Regions from separate parts of the Homo sapiens genome. Here all the other regions are linked to region 2. The links are contacts of gene promoters, found by promoter capture Hi-C in human tissues and cell types (Jung and others, 2019). All regions are on one chromosome and are shown on one strand. The core of a region is centred on a gene start or on the middle of the fragment in contact, and the rest is flanking DNA. Distances in the headings are between cores, read along the strand shown.

Region 1 (3,509 bases), core at 810-3,309, 520 kb before region 2:
AAATAAGGATCTCTCTACAGGGAATGCATCTAAAGAGATGTTGCATTTTTATCCACTGGGGAAGGAGTGAGCAGAATTCCTAAATCATCATCCTTTCCTGTAGAAAGAGTAAGCTTAATGTAATCTGGGCACAGAGGCTCACACCTGTAATCCTAGCACTTTGGGAGGCTAAGGTGGGAGGATGGCTTGAGGCCAAGGGTTCAAGACCAGCCTGGGCAACAAAGCAAGACCCCATCTCTACAAAAATAAAATAAAATTAGCCGGGCGTGGTGGCATGTACCTGTAGCCCCAGCTACTCAGGAAGATGAGGAGAGAGGATCTCTTGAGCCCAGAAGATCGAGGCTCCAGTGAGCTTTGATTATGCCACTGCACTCCAACCTGGGCGACAGAGTAAAAAAAAAAAAAAAAAAATTGAAGAAAGTAAGCTTAGTGTAGACCAAGTAGAAGTCTATGGATTGTGGACTCTGTGAGGGCAGAGACCATAGCTGTTATCTGTACCAGTATCCCTAGCAACTAGTTCAGTGTCTTGCTTATACAGGTGCTCAATAAATATTTGTTCTATGTGTGACCAAATAAATGAAAGATTCTAAATTTTCTGGTAGTAGGAAATATCTCCATATAGATAGAAAAGTGCAAAAATCATAAATCTGATGAATTTCCACAAAGGGAACACCTCATAGACCTAGTGCCCAGGTAAAGAAATACAGTCATTCCAGTCCCCAGTACCCCTCATGCCCGTCACAGGCATTGCTTCTCCGAGAGTAAGCTCCAGCCTGACTCCCAGTGCCACGGTTCTGTTTTACCCATTTTTTAACCATGTATAAGCATGTCCTCTTTTGTGCCTTTCCCTGTTCATTTATAACATAGGGAGATTCATCGTGTTGGGAGTAGCAGTGGTTCATTTCTGCCCAGTGCAGTATTCTGCTGTGTGAATATACCGCAATGTATCCATTCTACTATTGATGGATACTTGGGTTGTTCCCGCTTGGGACTATTAGAAGTAGTGCTGCTGTGAATATTTTTGTACCTGTCTTTTGGTGGGTGGGTGTATGCATTCCTGTCAGGTATGTACTGAGGGGTAGAATACCTGGATGATAAAGCATGTGACTGTTCAGCTTTAGTAGAAACTGCTAAACAATCGTCCACATTTATACTTGCACTAGCAGAGCTTCTGTTGCAGCACCTCCCTGAATGCCTGTTTAGGTCTTTTTCATTTTAGGCACTCTAGTGGGTGACTAGTGGTACCATATTGATCTTTTAATTTACATTTTCCTCATGACTGAGGAAGTTGAGCATTTTTCATTTGTTTATTTGGATATGCTCTTTTGTGAAGCGTCTATTCTAGTCTTCTGCTCATTTTCCTACTGAGTTGTCTCTTTTGCTTACTGAATTCTCTCTGTAGTCGGGGCACAACTCCATTGTTGGATACATGTGATGTCAAAATCCCCCACTCCGTGGCTTGTCATTTCACTCTCTTTTTTTTTTTTTTTTTTTTTTTTTGAGATGGGGCCTTGCTCTGTGGCCAGGCTGGAGTGCAGTGGCGTGATCTCGGCTCATTGCAACCTCCGCTTCCCGGGCTCAAGCGATTCCCCTGTCCCAGCCTCCTAAGTAGCTGGGACTACAGGCACATGCCACCACGCCTGGCTAATTTTTTGTATTTTTAGTAGAGACGGGGTTTCACCATGTTGGCCAGGTTGGTCTTGATCTCCTGACCTCATGGTCTGCCCGCCTCGGCCTCCCTAAGTGTTGGGATTATGGCTGTAAGCCATGTCATTTCACTCTCTTAATGGTGTCTTTTGGTGAAAAGAAGTTCATAATTTCATGTAGTCCAGTTTATCCATTTTGTTTTCTATATGTTTAGCAGTTTTTTGTGTCCTGTTTAGAAAATTTTTGCCTATTCCAAAATCATGAAATTTAAGTTCTCCACCTCTGTTGAAATTATAATATTAAGGCAGAAAAGACTCTTCATTCTGATCTGTTGGTTCTTAGCCTTTTGCAAGTCCAGGATCCCTGTGAAAATCTGACTAGAACTCTGGACGCCCTGCACAGAAGTGCACCTACGCACACACACAGTAGATTTTCCTGCAGTGTTAGGGAGTTCACAGACACTCAGACTTAATCTGTGGACCCCTTGTTAGAGAACCCCTCATCTATTCCAACCCAGTCATTTTACAGATAAGGAAATTGAGGCCCAGGGAAAGGCCACTGTTAGTTTGTGGCCCACCTGGAACTAGAGTCCAGGTCTCTTGACTCCGATTCTAGTGCTCTTTCTAACAGATTTCCCTGCTGCAGTCTTTCTGAAAATGTCTCACTGGCAGAACCATGAAAGGGAGAATGTTTTAGTCAAGGGAGATTTCTGTCCACTAGCAGCAACAAAAAAAAAAAATGGCTACATGGTGACACTCTTCTACTTTATGTATTTACCTTAAATGTTTAAGATCCAGGAACTGCTTTTTGAAGTTGAGCTGGGAATTATCATGGCCCATGCATCCTCCTCTAGCTGTGACTCAGTGCCCTGGGGTTGCTATATGAACCTTTCCATGTATAACTACCTGTATTCGGCTTGGTCTTTTGGTTGGTTCTGGCTGGAATTTTAAAAACCACCTTATATAATAAGCTTCTAGTCTCAATGCTGAAGTGGGTGGGGTTTACCAGAGTGGTTGCTCCAGGGAGAAAATTAAAAGGGGTGGAGGCAGGGAAAGGAACTCTGAGTTTGTTGACTAGGTTATGTTGGTTTGCAAGTAGTCAGCTGGTAGACAAACGAAGCCAGAGTGTCTGGAAGTATTCATTAATGATTTTACTGCTCCCCTGCCACTGTCTGCAGTGGTCTTTTCCAAGGCTCTAAGTGGACTAAGCAGTTTACAGGTAACAGGGCCAGATATTTTCAAGCCATCACTCAAACCCCAGTGCTAGGCATGTCCAGAGCGAAACCTGTTACCTTGTCGGCATGCTCACCAAAGTGCACTGCCAGGGGTGTGCACTTTACACTCATAGCACAGATCACAGTTTGTGTCTCACAGTGAAAAAGACTGTTCATATCTTTGGGCCACACCCTGAAACACAAACTGAATGATCCCACCCTCAACACAAAGGAAGTTGAGTCCATAATCGCATCCACAGATAGGATACTCTTAGATCTGACAAATAACACCCATTTATTTTATTCCCTTTTTCTTCTTTCCCCTAAGCCCCCGGAGAGCCTTTCTCCAGTTTCATCACACACTCCTGACTAAGTAGATGGGGGTGCTAGGGGGCCAGCTCTCCGAATGAGGCACATTTGTCTTGTCATTTCAAAAGCTTTCACAGAGCACCTGCTGTGTTCTGGGTCCTGTACTAGGTGACAGGGCCACCTAGGTGAACAGGGCAAGGTCCCTGTCCTCAGGAAGCTCCCAGTCCAGGCAGAGGCGTGGGTGAATCGGCCCACACGTACTGCACAGTGTGTTGAGTGAGCACAGATGCTGTGGGGCCACCCTGTGGGTCCAGGGAAGCACTTCCTAGAGAAGAAATCC
Region 2 (3,606 bases), core at 575-3,074:
AATAAATGTTTATTCTCTATAATGAGATGCTGGCTGGGAACGAAAAACGGAACCTGTGGTTGAGTAATGGAAAGTCCAGTACTCAGCTCTTAAAGGATTTCAAAATCATGTCACATGAGGGCAGGAAGGAGTTGGCCAAGATAAATGGAAGAGGAAGGGGAGATGTTCGAAGCAGCAGAAGCAAAGGGCTATAGGTGACACACACCTGCAAGCAGCTTAACAAGACTGGAGCAGCGTTGGGGGATGGGAAAGCAGTTTAGCAACATGAGCCATTCCAAGACTGGACTTTTCTTTATTCAAGTGTTAGGTCACTTCCTCAGGGAAGCCATCCCTGACTAGCTAGCTTTTATGCTTCCCCCCAATTACTGTCCATCCCATGACCCTGTACGTTTCAGAATCGGAAACACCTACCAACCCTTACTGACAATGCCGCCACCGCCACCACCACCACTATTATTAGAAGGTGCCATGAAACAGGGTTCTTTTTCTTCTTATTTTACTGATAGATCACCAGTGCCCACAATAATGCCAGGCACATAACAGGCAAATATTTGTTTTATTCATTCATCCAACAAATATTTATTGAGCATATATAATATGCTAGGCATTGCTCTATATGCTGGGGATATAACAAAACATGACAAAATTTGCTGTCACTGTTAAGTTTACTATGAGCAAATACATTAAATATGCTTAGCCTAGAGAAGAAAAGGTGAGAAGAGGAAGACAAACTAGCAGCTTTCAATGATGTATAGGGCAATTAAATGCAGGGGTGATTCCAAGAGCCTGAAGGAGGAACAGTGAGCTAAGATTACCGAGTAGCTGCTTTCAGCTCAACCTAAGAGTCAGAACTGGGGGAGGACCAAACAGGAGCAACCAGAAGTAGAAAGCTTTCTGTCACTGAAGAAATCTGGCCAGTGGGCAGAGGTGTCAGAGAAAAAAATCTAAGTAGTCAATGAAAAAGGGAGTCTGGGATCCAGAGGTCCCAAACTGACAGCCACAGATATGACTGGTTACAGTTGAACAGGGTTTTGTAAAAACTGAGTTGCCAATGTTTTTAAACGCCAGAATTACTTGCCAATTTTTAAAAAATGGCATCAGTCGCCAGTGTTTAAAAATCAGGAAACTGCACGCACGTGCACACACACACGGTTTGGCTTGTACTTCTCCAACATCATGTACGTTAGTACTGTACTTATAAAATTAGAAGTTTGACTCTATTTCTGACAAATGTTCTAACACCTATATTTACCTTACCGGATTGATTCTTATTGTGCATTAGTTTCTAACCCTGTAACCAAGGAATCGAGAATCTTCTTTCTCAGAAAGTAAACTTATTTAACCTCCTCACTTAAACAAATGGCGGATTATCATTCCCATTTTGCAGATGGAAAAGCAGCTTAGATGGGGAAGGAACGTGCCAGAGACAGCAAATCCAGACACAGCCAGGCTGGGAATCCAAATGTCCCATCTCCCGTGTTCCAACACTGAAGATTCTGAGCACTGCCTACCAAGAGGACAGGAGGGGCTGACTTAGGAAATCAGCACGAGCTTCCAAGTCAGAAGACCCCGGACTGAACCAGTCTGAGGGGACGCGGCTACAGACGAAGGGCGCCAGCCGGAATCAGTGAGTCCCTGGAGGAGGAAGGACCACCCAGAAACTGGCAGAGGAGGATCCTGAGACTTGCTGTGACCCTCGCCCTCCCTGGCGAGCTCGCCCCTTGACTCCAGGCCTCCAAAACCGGCCCAGCAAGACCCCACTACACCCTCGCCCGCCGCGGCTCACTTACCGCCGCTCAACTTCCGGCAACCACAGCTCTCTCTGAGGCGCGCGCCCCGATGACGCAACGCGGTCCTGCCCGCGCTTGCCACTGGGAAGCGGCGCGCGTGCGCAAAGGAGCAGAGGCATGCCGGGGAAATGCGCCCCTAGCACCGAGCTAAGTGGGAGGAACTTGAGTCGTGAGGAGGGCGGGGCATCAGGGGGCGGTGACGCCCCCGGGGGAAGCGATGGAGAGCGTCTCCCTTACCAGATGTCGGAATGTCTACATTCCCTTCAGGCTTTTAAGAAAGTGCCCACGTTCTCTCTTTTGATTTCAGAGGATGACAGGAATGATCACCATGGTCATTCTCCAGGAGAGGCGGCATCAAACGCAGCACAGGGGCCATCAGGGTGGCAGGTGTGGAGAGCCAGGAGATGAGAATTTTAGTAGGAAAAGGCCAGTGAACGTCGACAGTGACCAACCTGCCTTTTCTAAACCAGCCATCATTCTCACAGCTCCTCACTGTCAGTGAGATAAAGTTATTCCCTCTCAATACTTGGTTAGATACTCTGCGCGTGCAAAGCACTGGACAGGTGTTGAAGATACAGCAGTGATTATGACAAGTTTCTCTGTCTGGCCTGTAAGGCCTTTCACAAATTAACTCTGATATACCACTCTAGACTCATAACAACAAGAGCGATGACTGCTATTAATTAACTAGCCACCATGTTTTCAGGGTTTTACATCTCTAATCCTCACAAGAGTCCTGAAACATATCCCCAAGTTATATATGAAAGAACAGAATCTAAGAAAAGTTAGGTGGCTTGCTGAAAGTTAAAGGGCTTTTGGGCCAGGAACGTAATCTGAAGTTTGTTTGATTCTGGCAAATAAGAAAACAAATCCAGACTAATAAGGATACTTATTAGAAAGGATTACTGCAGGCCCGGCGCGGTGGCTCACGCCTGTAATCACAGCACTTTGGGAGGCCGAGGCGGGCGGATCACGAGGTCAGGAGATCGAGACCATCCCGGCTAAAACGGTGAAACCCCGTCTCTACTAAAAATACAAAAAAATTAGCCGGGCGTGGTGGCGGGCGCCTGTAGTCCCAGCTACTTGGGAGGCTGAGGCAGGAGAATGGCGTGAACCCGGGAGGCGGAGCTTGCAGTGAGCCGAGATCCCACCACTGCACTCCAGCCTGGGCGACAGAGCGAGACTCCGTCTCAAAAAAAAAAAAAAAGAAAGGATTACTGCAAGAAGTGAGAGAGGTGGGAGAGAAGGAACCGTGCAATAGCAGAGGGAGACTATTGCAATAGTGAGATCACTCTGACCAAAACATCCGCAGATGTTTCAATGGTTAGGGAAAAAGAGGGTTCCCCCACCCCCCACCCTCCCCAAAGGCAGGTAAACAAGGCTGGAAACAACCGAATATGGGAAGTGGGATGAAGGGGTGGCTTGATCAGATAGTAGATTAGAGAATGTTTTATCTTGAGGCCAACCTATTCTCAGTAGGGGTTGTGTGTGTCAGTCTCTGAGCCCAAGCTAAGCCATCATATCCCCAGTGACCTGCACGTATACATCCAGATGGCTTGCAGCAACTGAAGATCCGCAGAAGTGAAAATAGCCTTAACTGATGACATTCCACCATTGTGATTTGTTTCTGCCCCACCCTAACTGATCAATGTACTTTGTAATCTCCCCCACCCTTAAGAAGGTTCTTTTATAGTCTCCCCCACCCTTAAGAAGTTTCTTTGTAATTCTCACCACCCTTGAGAATGTACTTTGTGAGATCCACCCCCTACCCCCAAAACATTGCTTTTAACTCCACCGCCTATCCCAAAACCTATAA
Region 3 (3,646 bases), core at 1,085-3,584, 550 kb before region 2:
TTGCATTTTCGGTGTTCAGATTAGGGTTGCCCAACCTGGATCTCCATTGCCTAGCACAGCTCCTGGTACTTTGTAGCCACTCAGATATTCACTGAACTGAAATGACAGCAGTCTTGCAATTCGTTTAAAGGGAGAAAAGTTAGCCGGTAATTATTATCTCCAAGACCCAGCGCTTCCTCTACCCTCCATCCTTCGACTATGCTATATACATATCATAAGTAGTATCTGCTTTACTACTTACAAAGCATTCTCTAATACCTTAACTCTGGGTTCCCCAACCCTTGGGAACCCTGTTAGGAACCAGGACGCACAGCGGGAGGTGAGTGGTGGGCGAGCTTCATTTGTATTGACAGCCAATCTCCATCACTTGCATTACTGCCTGAGCTCCGCCTCCTGTCAGATCAGCAGCTGCGTTGGATTCTTATAGGAGCGCAATACCTATTTGAACTGCATATATGAGGAATCTAGGTTGCAGGCTTTTTATGAGAATCAAATGCCTGATCTGTCACTGTCTCCCATCACCCCCAGAGGGACTGTCTAGTTGCAGGAAAATAATCTCAGGACTCCCACTGATTCTACATTATGGTGAGTTGTATAATTCTTTCATTATATATTACAATGTAATAATAACAAATGAAGTGCACAATAAATGTAATGTGCTTGAATCATCCTGAAACCACTGTCCCCTGGACCCACATCCATGGAAAAATTGTCTTCCACAAAACCTCTTCCTGGTGCCAGAAAGTTTGGGGACTGCTGCCCTAACTCCTTAAATCTGAAAGCAACTTTGTAAGGTTAGTGTGATTAAGCCATTTTACAGTGAAGGACTCAGAAGGTTTAAGTAACTTGACCTCAGTCACCCTGGGACATTGCCAGACTTGAAAGCCAGGGCCTTGCCGCTGTACTGTGCAGCCCTTCACATCTGCATACTTGTAATGAGGTCCCTGACTGCTGGCTGCATGCCTGAATCACAGGGAAGGCCACCTACAGGTGGCTTGCAGGCCTTGGAGTTTGTATCATTTCAAGGTCAAGGAGAAATCCTTTTGGATGCCTATTGTACTGGCAGTTCTAGAGGCATAAAATAAAGTCAGCAGTCAGTTTTAATCCATTGCTGTAGTTTTGTTGAAAACAAATCTCCCAAGGTAAGAAAAATTGATTGTTATGATCAGATGCTGGTTCGTGCTGTGCCCATGATGTTATTCATTTTGTTCTGAAGAAATGAGTCATAAGCCCATTTGCTTCCTATCCCCTGCGGTTGAGCTAGTTCAGCTGCACACCAGTGAGAGAAATTCAGTTCTGCACACATTTATTGATGTATGTGTTCCCTGTGCCAGGCAGTGCACAAGGAGCTAAGGATGCAGACATAAATAAGCCCCGGTCCTTGTTCTCCGAGAGCCTGGAGTGTTTTCTAGGTCCTTTAATCATGGCATGCAATTGTTCTTTTAGGGGGAAGATTTGGATTGTAAAACATAATCCTTGATATTTTAAAATGGTAAATCCTTCTCTCAGAAAGTGACTGTCTAAAATTGAGGAACTTTTTGTTTGTGGAATGTACAGAAAGAAGGAATGACACAAATATTTAGAATTCAACAGTTTTAGAAACTGATCTTTCACTTCAGGGCCAGCCTTGTTAGAGTCAGAATTTGATGACATTTCATCTCTTCAAAGATTAATGGAATCCATTTTTATACGTGTAAGGATTTACACAGTTGGAAGTTAACTCAGCCACCACTCCATTCACATTTGTCACGTCATCATCTGTGTATCCCATAAATGTGTTTTAAAATGCTAGAAAGTAATATGCCAGCATTATAGAAGTGAGGGAAATGGGGGGAAATTATAGAGTAAAATCATCACCTAAAATTTCACTACCCTAATACCGAGAGGCAGTTGGACCTGGGGCATGTTGTCTTTGCACGTCCATCTCCTCATCTGTAAAATTAAGAATAATAGTACTTATTTTATGGAGCTTTGCCATGACCAAATGAGATAGCAAATTAAAGCACACATGCAAAAACCCACAATAAATGTATTTTATTAGAGCAAAAATAAGCATTTTTATATAGTCTCTTTGTCTTGTTTTTCTCATTTTTTATGAAGTTTTTTTTGTTTTGGTATGCTTAAAAAAAAAATTACATAGAGACAGAGTCTCGCTATGTTGCCCAGGCTGGTCTCGAACTCCTGAGCTCAAACATTCCCCCGGCCTTGGCCTCACAAAGTGCTAGGACTATAGATGTGAGCCACCATGCCCAGCCTGTTATACTTTTGTATCTCTTTGTTTCTTACTGCATATTAAATGATCACTTTCCATCTTGTTGTGTGTGATTACTGTCTGTGATAGTAACCATATGCCATCATAGTGCATTCTTTCCCCTGTTGTTGGACATTTGGGATGCTTTCAGTATTATAAGTAGTGCTTCAGTGAGCAATTTTATATATGTAGTATATTTTTACTTCCTGGAAACCTTACGCAAGTTTCTTAATCACTGTCTTTGTTCCCTTGTGTATGAATGGGGATAGAATCCTATCTACCTGAGAGGAGAGCTGTGTGTATTAAATGAAGCAATACCACAACACACTTGGCACAGTGGCTGGTATTTACCAGATGCTCGGTAAACGTTACCTGTGTGTTTCTGTCTTACTCTGTGTTTCTGGCTTATTTCTTTAAGCTTGCTCCAGAGATGGGGTTTCTTGCTTCAGTGCTTTCCAGAAGAATTTTAGCAGTTTATGCAGTCAACAGCAATATGTGAAAGGACTGATTTCTCAACCTCCTCATTAGCAGTGATCCCAGGTTTTAACTATCTAACTCTCTTTCCCTTCAAAATAATAGTGACAAAAACAAGTTCATCCATATTTGAGCAGATTTTTAGGACTGGGACTCGCTTCTGCTCACTCACCTGAACAGTCAGACCCCCTGTACACCAAGATCGGGTTCCAGAGGCTCTTTAGAAGTCTTTTTTTTTTTTTTTTGAGATGGAGTCTTGCTTCATCACCCAGGCTGGAGTGCAGTGGCGCGATCTCGGCTCACTGCAAGCTCTGCCTCCTGGGTTCACGCCATTCTCCTGCGGCCCCCCCCCAAGTAGCTGGGACTACAGGCGCCTGCCACCACGTCTGGCTAATTTTTTTGTATTTTTTAGTAGAGACGGGATTTCACTGTGTTAGCCAGGATGGTCTGGATCTCCTGACCTCGTGATCCGCCTGCCTCGGCTTCCCAAAGTGCTGGGATTACAGGTGTGAGCCACCGCGCCCAGCCTGGAAGTCTGTTTTTCTAAGCTTGCAGTCCCCAGTTGCATTCCACCAAATTGTAGTGTAAGTTGGTCCTTTGAAGCTTAAAACCTAGCATATTTTATTCCTTACTCAATGAAGTACATATTGTTGGTCTTCCTTGTATTTTTACTTTTTCTAAAACAAGCCAACAGTTTGCACTAGGAAAATCCATTGTGGCAAATAATGACCTCTATGATCCCTTCCCCTCTCCAGAAAAAAGAAATTGGCGAGGGTAACCATATGTCCTGGTTTGCTCAGTTTATACTTGTCGTAGTGTGATTATTTATAGCGATCCCTTCACCCTCAGAAGTGACCTAGTTTGGATGATAAATTATATTGTCATCCTAGCCCCAGGGGATTCCTCAGCAGCTGGGTTATC

The links. The method cuts DNA at HindIII sites, captures the fragments that hold promoters and counts their contacts. A contact is called where the count stands out against the background at its distance.
Region 1: a contact is called between a fragment that was not itself captured here and the fragment with the promoter of ATG7 in region 2, in 1 of the 25 tissues and cell types used here (adrenal gland).
Region 3: a fragment that was not itself captured here is called in contact with the fragment with the promoter of ATG7 in region 2 in 3 of the 25 tissues and cell types used here (lymphoblastoid cells, mesendoderm cells and thymus).

What each region holds. Positions count from the first base shown.
Region 1 is chr3:11,791,051-11,794,559 of GRCh38, reverse strand. The region is part of intron 7 of TAMM41 (TAM41 mitochondrial translocator assembly and maintenance homolog); the gene reads left to right. Among named protein-coding and RNA genes, the nearest start is that of TAMM41, 54 kb to the left of the region's middle. The HindIII fragment of the contact is 3,579 bases long and covers 270-3,509 here.
Region 2 is chr3:11,270,615-11,274,220 of GRCh38, reverse strand. It overlaps ATG7 (autophagy related 7), which reads right to left and starts at 1,824. Exons shown (of 21, transcript NM_001349232.2): 1 at 1,791-1,824. RefSeq lists enhancers at 1,039-1,628, 1,777-1,906, 1,629-2,220, 2,177-2,226. The HindIII fragment of the contact is 6,326 bases long and covers 190-3,606 here.
Region 3 is chr3:11,818,222-11,821,867 of GRCh38, reverse strand. All of the region lies in intron 4 of TAMM41 (TAM41 mitochondrial translocator assembly and maintenance homolog), which reads left to right. Among named protein-coding and RNA genes, the nearest start is that of TAMM41, 27 kb to the left of the region's middle. The HindIII fragment of the contact is 6,785 bases long and covers 1-3,646 here.